Regions from separate parts of the Homo sapiens genome. Here region 1 is linked to region 2. The links are contacts of gene promoters, found by promoter capture Hi-C in blood cells and fetal thymus (Javierre and others, 2016). All regions are on one chromosome and are shown on one strand. The core of a region is centred on a gene start or on the middle of the fragment in contact, and the rest is flanking DNA. Distances in the headings are between cores, read along the strand shown. Region 1 overlaps CARMIL1 (capping protein regulator and myosin 1 linker 1). Region 2 holds the start of H3C2 (H3 clustered histone 2).

The links. Contacts are between HindIII fragments. The CHiCAGO score rates a contact against its expected background, and 5 or more counts as called.
Region 1: a contact is called between a fragment that was not itself captured here and the fragment with the promoter of H3C2 in region 2, in 1 of 17 cell types (erythroblasts). The highest score is 5.2, in erythroblasts.

Annotation. Positions count from the first base shown.
Region 1 is chr6:25,534,842-25,540,536 of GRCh38, reverse strand. CARMIL1 (capping protein regulator and myosin 1 linker 1) reads right to left here. Exons shown (of 37, transcript NM_017640.6): 25 at 2,554-2,682; 26 at 459-590. Among named protein-coding and RNA genes, the nearest start is that of SCGN, 110 kb to the left of the region's middle. The HindIII fragment of the contact is 3,740 bases long and covers 2,211-5,695 here.
Region 2 is chr6:26,029,391-26,035,087 of GRCh38, reverse strand. H3C2 (H3 clustered histone 2) reads left to right here and starts at 2,989. Exons shown (of 1, transcript NM_003537.4): 1 at 2,989-3,499. The coding sequence starts at 3,028. The coding sequence ends at 3,438. It overlaps H2AC4 (H2A clustered histone 4), which reads left to right and starts at 1,470. Exons shown (of 1, transcript NM_003513.3): 1 at 1,470-1,996. The coding sequence starts at 1,520. The coding sequence ends at 1,912. RefSeq lists enhancers at 553-612, 943-992, 1,396-2,025, 2,963-3,082, 3,123-3,352 and 1 more and a silencer at 1,513-1,612. The HindIII fragment of the contact is 2,287 bases long and covers 725-3,011 here.

The DNA of each region.
Region 1 (5,695 bases), core at 2,831-5,330, 500 kb after region 2:
GTAATTACATTTAAATACCTTTCCTAGTCTTTCAACCAGCCCCTTTGAAGATTATCTATTTACCTAGTGGCAGACTCCCCACATAAGCACCATCTAGGTACTGTAAATGTAGTTACTATCATTTTCCCCATTCTCTAAATCAGATGTTAATAACAGAAGGTATTTTTTCCAGAAGCACACTTCTCTTTCTACCCCCTAAATAGAAATCAATCATTCCTTTATCAGTGGCAACCCATAATTTATTAGGTACATTTAGAGGTTTACCCAAAAATGATTATGTAAGAAGTCTTTCCAAAACTTATAATGAAGCTGGAAAAGACACAGTATTCAATTTTTACTACATCTTTGCAGCATGCACACATACAAGTCTATAAAACATAGATAGCTATGGAATGAAATGCTATCATGCGTAGTTAAATATTAACAATTTCATTTCCCAAATAACAAACCCCACAAACCTTTAGTTGTTCATCTACTACTCTTGTAACTTCTCCAGCCATTGATTCCAGGGTCTCCTGAATTGGACTGGATAGTAAGCCACTGGCTCCCGCCCAAGATGCACCACCAACATGGTATAAATTTGGTAACAACTGTAAGAGAAATAAAAAATAACCTCTTTAGAATTGGGTAAATATTTCAATCAAAGTCATTGCAGAGTGAATGAGAAGGGTGAAGGAATACTGTTAGGGATAATCTCTTCTCAGTCAAAGGCTCTTTGCACAGATTAATAAACTGAGGTCCAGACTATGGGCATTCCTTTTTATTCAATGAGTCACAGCAACCCTAAGAAACACTAGACTGGGTATTAGGAGACTTTCACATTGACCACTTCTGTCATTAAGCAGCTTTGAAACCACAGGAATAATACATTACCTCCTCATGTCTTTTTTTTTTTTTTTTTTTTTTTTTTTGAGATGGAGTTTCGCTCTTGTTGCCCAGGCTGGAGTGCAATGGCGCGATCTCAGCTCACTGCAACCTCCGCCTCCCGGGTTCAAGCGATTCTCCTGTCTCAGTCTCCCGAGAAGCTGGGATTACAGGCACATACCACCATGCCCAGCTCCCCTTCATGTCTTAATGTCTTCATCTGGGGTATGAAAGTTGAGCTGCTTTTACTCACAACACTTCTGTCACCAAAAGTGTAGGTGTTTGCCACACCAGGCAAGTCTCCAGTTCTCTGCATACACTAAATGGGTGTCCTACAAATCTATTCAATTCAATTCTGACACTGTCTACCCAGAGTTTGCCTGAGATCCCAAAAGTGAAGGACTCAGTCCCACCAGACTATCCCCAGTTCAGATGGCACTCACAGGTCCCAGGTTGTTACTGGTACTTCTAACCAATAAGCCTTAAATTCAAGGGGTTCCCATAAATCCTTTTTCAGGTTCCATAATTTGCTAAAATGACTTACAGAACTCAGCCAAGCATTTTACTTATGATTACTGGTTTATTATAAAAGATACAGCTCAGGAGGAGCCAAACAGAAGATGTATAGGGTGAAGTAAGGGGTCAGGGGAGCTTCGGGGGAGTTCTGCAGGTATACAGCCCTCCCAGCACGTTGATGAGTTCATCAACCCAAAAGTTCTCTGAAGCCTACTGTTTAGAGATTTTATGGAGGACCCATTACATAGACACGACTGATTAAATCAGTGGCCACTGGTGTCCATTCAATCTCCAGCCCCTCTCCATTTCCATGGCGTCCAGGGGGTGGGCTGACAGATTCAGTTCACTAATAACGTGGCTGGTTCCTCTGGCAACCTCCCCTATCCTGCAACTTTCTAGGGGCACAGGAAGAGTCACCTCATTAGGATAAACTCTGGTGTGATGAGAGGGGCTTTTTATTAATAACAAAAGATGCTATTATCATCTCTGTCACTCAGGAAATTACAGGGGTTTTAGAAGCTCTGGTTCAGGAACCAGGGACAAAGACCAAATACTATAACAAAAGATGCTTCTATCATCCCTATCACTCAGGAAATTACAAGGTTTTAGAAGCTCCATATCAGGAACTGGGAACAAAGACCAAATATACATCTCTTATTGTATCACAAGAGTATCTGATTGATCTACAGATTCCTCATACTAATGACATTCAGTGATTGTGTGATTCTAGCAGCAGAACCAAAACCAGATCCCAGTTTTTCTGACTCACAGTTAAGTCCTTACTCTACTAAGTCACACATTGGGAACCAAAGTCTAACGTGAGAGAAGCTTCCTTTTAGGGGTAACAGAGGGGAGTTTCATGTTATCAGCTTAGAAGCAGAATCATTTTAAATGAGCTGTTACTCATTTAAACGACAGCTCCCTCTCAGTTGTTGAGGGCCCAATCACACCCTCTGTGAATCACACTGGCCCTCTGCTTTTTATTCTATATCTTGATTATTGGTAATCAGCACAGGTACAGAAAGGAGGTCAAGGCTAATTCAGTTCACTTTGCCACTTGTTAGTAAACTTGGAATTGGGTAGAGAGAGAAAGTTGAAACTGGTTTCTAAAACTAAATTTTATGAAACGTTTTTATTATACCAGACTCTCACACAGCCTGAAGTGAAACTCACCGTTTTAGAGTTCTTAGCATCACGCATGAGCCGCTCTGCTGATTTTAAATCTTCCTGGATAGCGTCTCCCCCACAATTTCGTAAGGAGTTGAGATGATCTTGTACTTTCACACATATTCTGTCAATCATCTGCTCCAAACCAGAAAAAGGCAAGCATCCAAGTCAGCCCAGCCGATATTCAGATAGAAGGAAACACAGAACGAAGGAGTATGAAAAAAACTTCAGCAAACCACAGAATGCACAAGGATGAAAACCTCAAACCCTTCTAACTGGAGTCACTGAGAATGCTGCTTGTAAGCAATTATTAATTTACTTTATTCATGCAAGTAACCTTTGGCAACTTTAATGCCAGAAAAAAATTGAAGGCATTTCAGTTCCCTTTCCTGCCTTAGGAAATGCAGCACGTAGAACAAAAGTGAACACTTCTTGATGATTCAGAACCTCACTCAGTGACATTTTGCTAGATACTAACTCCTTCATTAACTTTTAGTGAGCACCCTCTATGTGTTAGACATAGAGTTAGGTACTGAGGAAACAGAGAAATAAAATGTGCAACACTGAGACTGTTGTAATGACTACAAAATGATGCCCAACAGCCAGTTGGTCTCAATACTATAGAAACCAGAACATCTCTTAAAAATTGGTATTTTAAAAATCGATTCAATTACATCAAGTATTTTTCTTTGTAAATTAAGAGCCACCAAAAAACAAAAACAAATTGAGGTTTTATTATATTAACATAGGTAGTAATGAAGTCAATATCATCTAGTTTCTATTACAATAAGATGCCTCCCCTACCAGTTTAATTGCACCTAAATCATTCTCAATTGTTTTACGGATATAAACACAAAACCCAATGGGAGATGGTGGATCTCTATGGTAGACAAAAAATATTTCAGAAAGGTTAAGATTATGCTCTTCTATATTTGTACTTATACAAAAAAGCATGAAGGAAGCCAAGAAGTCTGAAGAAAAAGATAACCACAGTGTGGTTTTAAAAGTGTCTCCAATATTTTCGTTAGAGCTGCCGGTTGTCTATTTATTTCATGTTCTTAAAAAAAGTATTCATTCTTCAAAGGCCTTACATGTCAAGAGTCCTCTTCCATCTGATAATTCATTTGGCAGAGGAGACAAACAATATTCTTTTTTAGTTAAATTCACACTTCTCTATTTTGAATTATTTGATATCATAACGATAGGAAGCTAAAGTCTGCCCTTCTTCCCCCATAAATTTCAAAATGATAGAGACTTTACACACTATTCCGAAGACTTCAGGTCTGATTACAGAGCCCATGTCTACTTGCTGTAGCACTGCCATCTCTCTTGCCTTTTTCTTTGTAAAGTCAGGTTCATAATATCTACCGCACATTCTTTATTAGTGTGTTATGAAGACAATTCAATAAAATAACAGCACTCAAGCACCTATTGTTGAAAAAGGGCCAGTAATGCCAAAGTTTATGTATAATAAAAACAGCTCCTATTGCTGTAAAATATATTGAGGTTACATACGTTATTATCTTGAGATCCCCCTAGGAAAAAGAAGTTGTATGAATATTGCTTCTCACATCAAATTCTCTGCCTAAAATCCCTAAAAATCTAAGACAAGAAAGTTATGATTCCTGCCTCTGATTGTAGGCAGGAATCATATCTTTCTGCATTTACACAATGCCCTGCATAGAGCTAACTATAAGTTTTTTAAAATCTTAATTGATAGAAATCATAACTCTTCTAACTATTGTATTGATCTGTGCCTCCTGAAGCAAAAAGGGTCATTAATAATTCATATCTTACCAAGAATGAATGCCTAATTTCAAGAGACAAACCACACACTAAGAAAGAAACTGATATACATTTGGGGCTGCAAAAGGCTAATTTGAGAGGCATGTGGATGAGGCACTATAAAGTTGGTATCTTTAATCACCACGAGAGAACAAAGAGACACTTGAAATGTATGCCCTTAAGCATTCACCAAGGGGAGAGGATTTACATGAACTCAACAAAAATGGTCTTTAAGTAGAACATTTAAAATGTCATGCAAAAGAACAATCAAAATTAAGTTCTTCAATTCAAAGAAGACATAAAATCTCATGTCTCCAAGATTCCTCTGAGCATAGCTCAGCAGACCACATTTAGATCCTTTACCATGAAAGAGCTCAAAGCTCAGAAAAGGTAAACTATTTAAGATGACATGCAATGATTACACAGAGTACAGATTGAAAATTTTGAAAAAAGTAAATCAAGGGGTTTATCAGTTCATAATTCGTCTCTCAAGTACATAAATACGAAAAATAAAGGAGATGCAATCTGAAAGGCTATAATCTCTTGGGTTACCCCGTTAGAAGACCTCATAGAAGATGGTTGTGTTAGGGCTGTTTAGTTTAACCTCTCTACTTCACCCTAACCCTATAGTGTTCAGTTTCTCTAAAGCAATACAGAAAAGTTGTTGACGGCCATAGTTTATGAAGCTCAATTCCTTCCAAGAAAATGTACCCTGTCATTCCTAGATAAGGTTTTGAGTCTTAATCTGTCTTCTTACACCCTTCCTGCAGGTCCCATATCTTCCCCTTGAGAACACTCTGCACAATCATATGCTCTCTTCTAGTGACAGTCCTGCACATATTTAAATACACTTATTTTTCTTCCTTAGCCTTCTTTTCTTCAGGTTTAACATTCCCAGCTCCTTTTCCCATGCCTACGCTGACACAGTTCTCCAGTCCTTGACCTCCTTTCCTGTAGGTCACTTCTGCATTCTGTCTTCCACCTAGAACCTCATGAAGTCTCCTTAGTGAAATGGATTGTAACTAAGAGTGGACTGGAAAGCACAGAGCTGAGATGAACAGAGCTATCGTCTTCCTTACTGTAGAAAGTATACCTTCATTAATACGGTACAAGTCAAATTGACTTCTTTGGCAACTACATCACACCACTAACTCATATCACACTTGCTGGTGACTACCTAGGCTTTTTCAGATATACTGGGCTATTGAACCCACGGGTAAGAATTACAACTATTAGCAATAAATGCCATCTGTGGTTGCTCACAAGTTGATACAACTGTTCTTATTTCCAGCAAACAGCTTATTCATAGAAAATTTTATCATTTTCCACATTGGTTTCTTTATTCCATTCAAGAGAAATAAAC
Region 2 (5,697 bases), core at 1,740-4,239:
CTTGACCTCTCAGTGCAGCATTTCTTCCTTCTGGTTATAGGACAAGACTCTCTTTTAGAATGGGGGGTCTTATGACCTACAGGCAAACAAGGTAGGTTAGAGTAATACTTTTAGGTTTTATGGCTGGTTCTAGGGAAAAGGAGTTCTGGTTTGTATGGCCTACCTTGAGGAGGAATTCTGGTTTCTATGGCTAGACTTTGGGGAGAATGGGACTTACAGACAGGAAGGCAGAAGGTGGTCAGTGAAACACTTTTATAATCATAATCCCATTTTGAGTATTTCTGTGTTATGGAATGTTTGTTCTCTCATTTCCTGAAAGATTCCAGAGACTCCTCATTCAGTGTTGTGAAAAAGTTCAGGAAATGCAACTCAAAAATGTGCCACTTTGTTACGCTGATTTCTTTGAACTGAGGGCACCTAGGAAACAGTAAATTCAAGGAAGGGCTTTCGCTGAACTCTAATCAAAAATTTGAAAATTAAAAAAAAATTCAAAAAGGAATTTAGTTGTTAAGATTCACTTCCCTGGGGAATCTCATCAACCAGAGAAGATTAACTGTATCACAGGAGAGGAGACTGGTGGTTAACACCATCTAAACAGACTTTGTCACAGCTGTCACCTATTCTTTGAAACACCCATTTATTTTTCTCCAAAATCATATACTCTCCCCTAAGTTGCCTACATCCCCCTTCTTTCTCCCTTATGAATCAAGAGAGCTTATAAGCTTCTACAGTTCACTGGGATTTGGGGTATTCGCTTTTCTTCCCTCCCACTCCCCCTCCCCTTTTTTTGTCTTTGAGACACAGTCTTCTGGCTCTGTCGCCCACGCTGGAGTGTGGTGGCTCTATGTGAACTCACTGCAACCTCCTCCTCTCGGGTTCAAGCGATCCTCCCACCTCAGCTTCTCGAGTAACTGGAACTACAGGCGTGCACTACCAAGCCCGGCTTTTTTTTTTCTTTTTCTCCCCCGTTTCTTTTTTGGTTATTTTACTGGAGACAGGGTTTCTCCATGTTGTCCACGCTGGTCTCGAACGCCTGACCCGCCGTCCTCGGCCTCCCAAAGTGCTGGTATTACGGGCATGAGCCACTGCGCCCGATTTGAAGGACCTCTTAAATATCTATTTAGAAATTGGTCGGAGTCCACTCCTTTCCAAAAACATGAGTCACAATCCGGGAAAAGCACGAGCGGCTGAAAGTCAAAATAACCAGAACAAAACCTCCACTCATGCTTAAAAAAGGTATTTTGACAAAATCCTAATTCGGCCAATTATTATTAGTATTCAAGTCGAAGGCTCGTCAAGCCAGACTGGGGATTGGGTCAAACATAAACCTTACACCAGACGGAAGGATTACATGCAAATGAAGGATGCAGATTCTGATTTCCCATTGGGTATTTGACATTAGCCAATGGGAGAATTCCTCACAGCCTACCTCCAGTCAGTATAAATACTTCTCTGCCTTGCGTTCTAATGTAGTTTCATTACATTTTCTTGTGGCGATTTTCCCTTATCAGAAGTAGTTATGTCTGGTCGCGGCAAACAAGGCGGTAAAGCTCGCGCCAAGGCTAAGACTCGGTCTTCTCGTGCAGGTTTGCAGTTTCCTGTGGGCCGAGTGCACCGCCTGCTCCGCAAAGGCAACTACTCCGAGCGCGTCGGGGCTGGCGCGCCGGTGTATCTCGCGGCGGTGCTTGAGTACCTGACCGCCGAGATCCTGGAGCTGGCGGGCAATGCGGCCCGCGACAACAAGAAGACCCGCATCATCCCGCGCCACCTGCAATTGGCCATCCGCAATGACGAGGAGCTTAATAAACTCTTGGGGCGTGTGACCATCGCGCAGGGTGGCGTTTTGCCTAATATTCAGGCGGTGCTGCTGCCTAAGAAAACTGAGAGCCATCATAAGGCCAAGGGAAAGTGAAGAGTTAACGCTTCATGCACTGCTGTTTTTCTGTCAGCAGACAAAATCAGCCTAACAGCAAAGGCTCTTTTCAGAGCCACCTACGACTTCCATTAAATGAGCTGTTGTGCTTTGGATTATGCCGCCCATAAAGATGTTTTTGAGGTGTTTTTAATGGCTTTGAGTGTGGCACTTTTAGTAATTTGTCCTGCAGAAATTAGATCCATAGAAACCTCAGGAATTCTAGGTATGTGGGAGAAGTGCCATGCAGCACAAAACATGTTTACAGGGGTGATTCGCGTTAAGTTTCACACACAGCAGTTACTACATTTTAGAGGAAGGAAATTATACCCATGAGTGCATTCCTAACTATCTTGAATGGAAGTGTTAAAACCCGCATGCCCCACACAAGTTTGAATATGTCATACCATTTGCTGTAGCAATTAATGGCATACACAATTGAGAGCACACACATTACCACTGAACATTTGAGTATGTATTTCCCAAAATGAGCTTTTTTCCAGTTTGGGGATGTTTTGCTTTGTTTTGGGGTGGAGTCTCCCTCTCGCCCAAGCTGCAGTGCAGCGGCGTGATAACAGCTCACTGTAACCTCGAACTCGGGCTCAAGCGATCCTCTTGACAGCCTTCTGAGTAGCTGGGATTACAGGCGAGAGCCGCCACGCCCGGCTAAGAGCATTTTTCTAATTGCCCACACTTCTTATGCGACACCCAGAAAAATACAATTTTAAATAAAGCGCATATGCAAATTTCCCTAATCGTCTCCAATATTCTCTGATTTCTTTTTTATATTTTAACTAGAAACAATTGGAGGTTTCCGCGTTGCTTTGTGTGGTTGTAAATTTTAAGACTTCAGGAAACTTTTCCAGTACAAGACTTGTCCACAGTGGATATAGCAGCTAAGGGGTTAACAAAATGACGTCAGAGTAGCTACGGTAATGGGCAGGAGCCTCTCTTAATCTGCAACCAGGCACAGAGATGGACCAATCCAAGAAGGGCGCGGGGATTTTTGAATTTTCTTGGGTCCAATAGTTGGTGGTCTGACTCTATAAAAGAAGAGTAGCTCTTTCCTTTCCTCCACAGACGTCTCTGCAGGCAAGCTTTTCTGTGGTTTTGCCATGGCTCGTACTAAACAGACAGCTCGGAAATCCACCGGCGGTAAAGCGCCACGCAAGCAGCTGGCTACCAAGGCTGCTCGCAAGAGCGCGCCGGCTACCGGCGGCGTGAAAAAGCCTCACCGTTACCGCCCGGGCACTGTGGCTCTGCGCGAGATCCGCCGCTACCAAAAGTCGACCGAGTTGCTGATTCGGAAGCTGCCGTTCCAGCGCCTGGTGCGAGAAATCGCCCAAGACTTCAAGACCGATCTTCGCTTCCAGAGCTCTGCGGTGATGGCGCTGCAGGAGGCTTGTGAGGCCTACTTGGTAGGGCTCTTTGAGGACACAAACCTTTGCGCCATCCATGCTAAGCGAGTGACTATTATGCCCAAAGACATCCAGCTCGCTCGCCGCATTCGCGGAGAAAGAGCGTAAATGTAAAGTCACTTTTTCATCAGTCTTAAAACCCAAAGGCTCTTTTCAGAGCCACCCACTTATTCCAACGAAAGTAGCTGTGATAATTTTTTGTTGTCTTAACAGAACAAATTTCTAAGGACCCCCCCGGAAAGCATTAGACTATGGTCTTAAAGTTGATTAACAGAAATAACGGTTTGGTCAGTCTTGCAGTGTAGGTTATTTCTGACCTTATTAAGGTGCTATTTGGAGAGAAGCTGTGTAAGTCCACTATCATTCAGGCCTCTAGCTTGCTATGATTAGCATTTGTTTAAACAACTTTGTAAGAGTAAGGGAAAAATCTGGTAAGTAGTTAACTGGCGCTTACTAGGCATTTTTGCAAAGCTTTGAAAAGATTAGAAAATTGTGTCTTGCGAGTTCCAGTGTCTTCCTCAAAATGCTTAGGAAGATTTTCTCAGCTCAATACATAGTCCCCTAGGTTTTCTCATATATTATATATATATATATATATATATATACTGTTAAATTCATTTGGCTGTTAACATTAACCTGAAATTTATTCTGGTGCAAAATGTGAGGCAGGGATCTAACTGGCTCTCATTTTATCCATAGCTAGCTACCCACTTTAAATCTGTCAGTCTGTCGACCAAGCATAATTTAATCCCTTATATATGAATTTTTATATGTGTGGCTTTGCTTGTAAATAGTCTATCTGGTTGCATTGCTTTGTCTCCTCTAGGACTATGCACCATGACATGCCACATTCTTTTTTTCAGTACTTCTTGCCTGTAGTTATTAAAATCTAGAATTTACAAGTTTTAACCATTTTCTTTCTGTTGATCTTGCTTTTCGGTTTTGGAGGTTGGGGATTGAGTACTGGAAGAAAATTTAGAGGGATGGGAATACTGTACGCAAACAAAAGTAATATTTACTTTAAAATTTTTATATTTTGTATTTTTTTATCATATAGCTTTTACATCACATTTTACAGACTAACTTTAGAACAACCACAGAATGTCCAACATTAAAACTACTAATTCCAAAGACCTTGCCTCACATTCTTTTTTACAATAAATATTTTTTACACCTAACATTCTTTCTTGGCCTACATCTAGAATGTAAACTGATGTACCATACTAAAATCGCCTGACCAACTGTCAACAACAACAAATCACACACACAAAAGATTAAATTTGAATTGCATCGTTTACTTAAATTCATTTGTGTTCCAGCTTTTAATAAGGCAGTTTTTGGTTTATAAAGTAATATTTGCATTTTAAAAATTATGAAAATGAATATGTCAGTTTGTTTTATGATTCGTTTTTCTTGACTCTTATACAAGCGACTCTAACTGGCATAGACATTTGTTATCCACAGACAGTATAGATATGTTAGAGATGCCAATGGACTTGGTCTATGCCAAGGTGACTACTCACAAGCTCTGGGCCCAGCTGAAGGTCAAGTATTTTTTTTCCAGTTATAGATGTGCTGGATCTGATGTATAGCGCTTGACTTTTTATATTTTCTTTATCTGTAGGAAACAAATGTGTTGGAGGTACTGGGTCTGACGAATAGCATAAAAGAATAAAGTTACATTACTGTCTGAGGATCAGATGGACAGGGGGTGGTAGCTCAGTCCAGCTATTTTCCACTCCCTCACTTACATTCTTTGCCCCCTCCTCAACAGAACAAGGATTCTGCTGTAACTCTTCATTGACAGTTGATATTTAAAAATTAACGAATGGATGAAATTCTCATTTGTGAAAGAAAATTTATTGAGCATTTTGTATTTGTGAGTAGTGCAAACATTTTAATATTATATTAAGAATCTATTGTTTTGTATTAGAGGAGTAATTAAGGAGAGATTGGAGACAAAAAGGGGGTGTTGTTTGCAGAATATACCATCCAAAAATAGACCACTGTGGGATCAGGATTCTTTTGAGCTAAAGGCACTTCAAAAACAGCATTCAAGAAGGGAATTCTTCTAAACTTTTCTTTCTGAAAACAGGAGATAAAAGTTCCAATGTGAAAAATGCTCTGCTTGTACCAGGTGAAAAGACATATTCTTCAGCCCAGAGGCATAGATGAGATAATTCTGCACAAACACAGCAGGGAGTCATAGCCGAGAGACTTCTATACACAAACAAACCTTGTTAAAATAATCATATATTCCTTTAATCTCCTCATATGGTTTACTTTCCCACAATTGCCTCTCTTTAACTTAATGTGAAAGCATTTAGCTTTTGCCATTTCTTTGGGGCTTCACTTTTTTATGAGGGT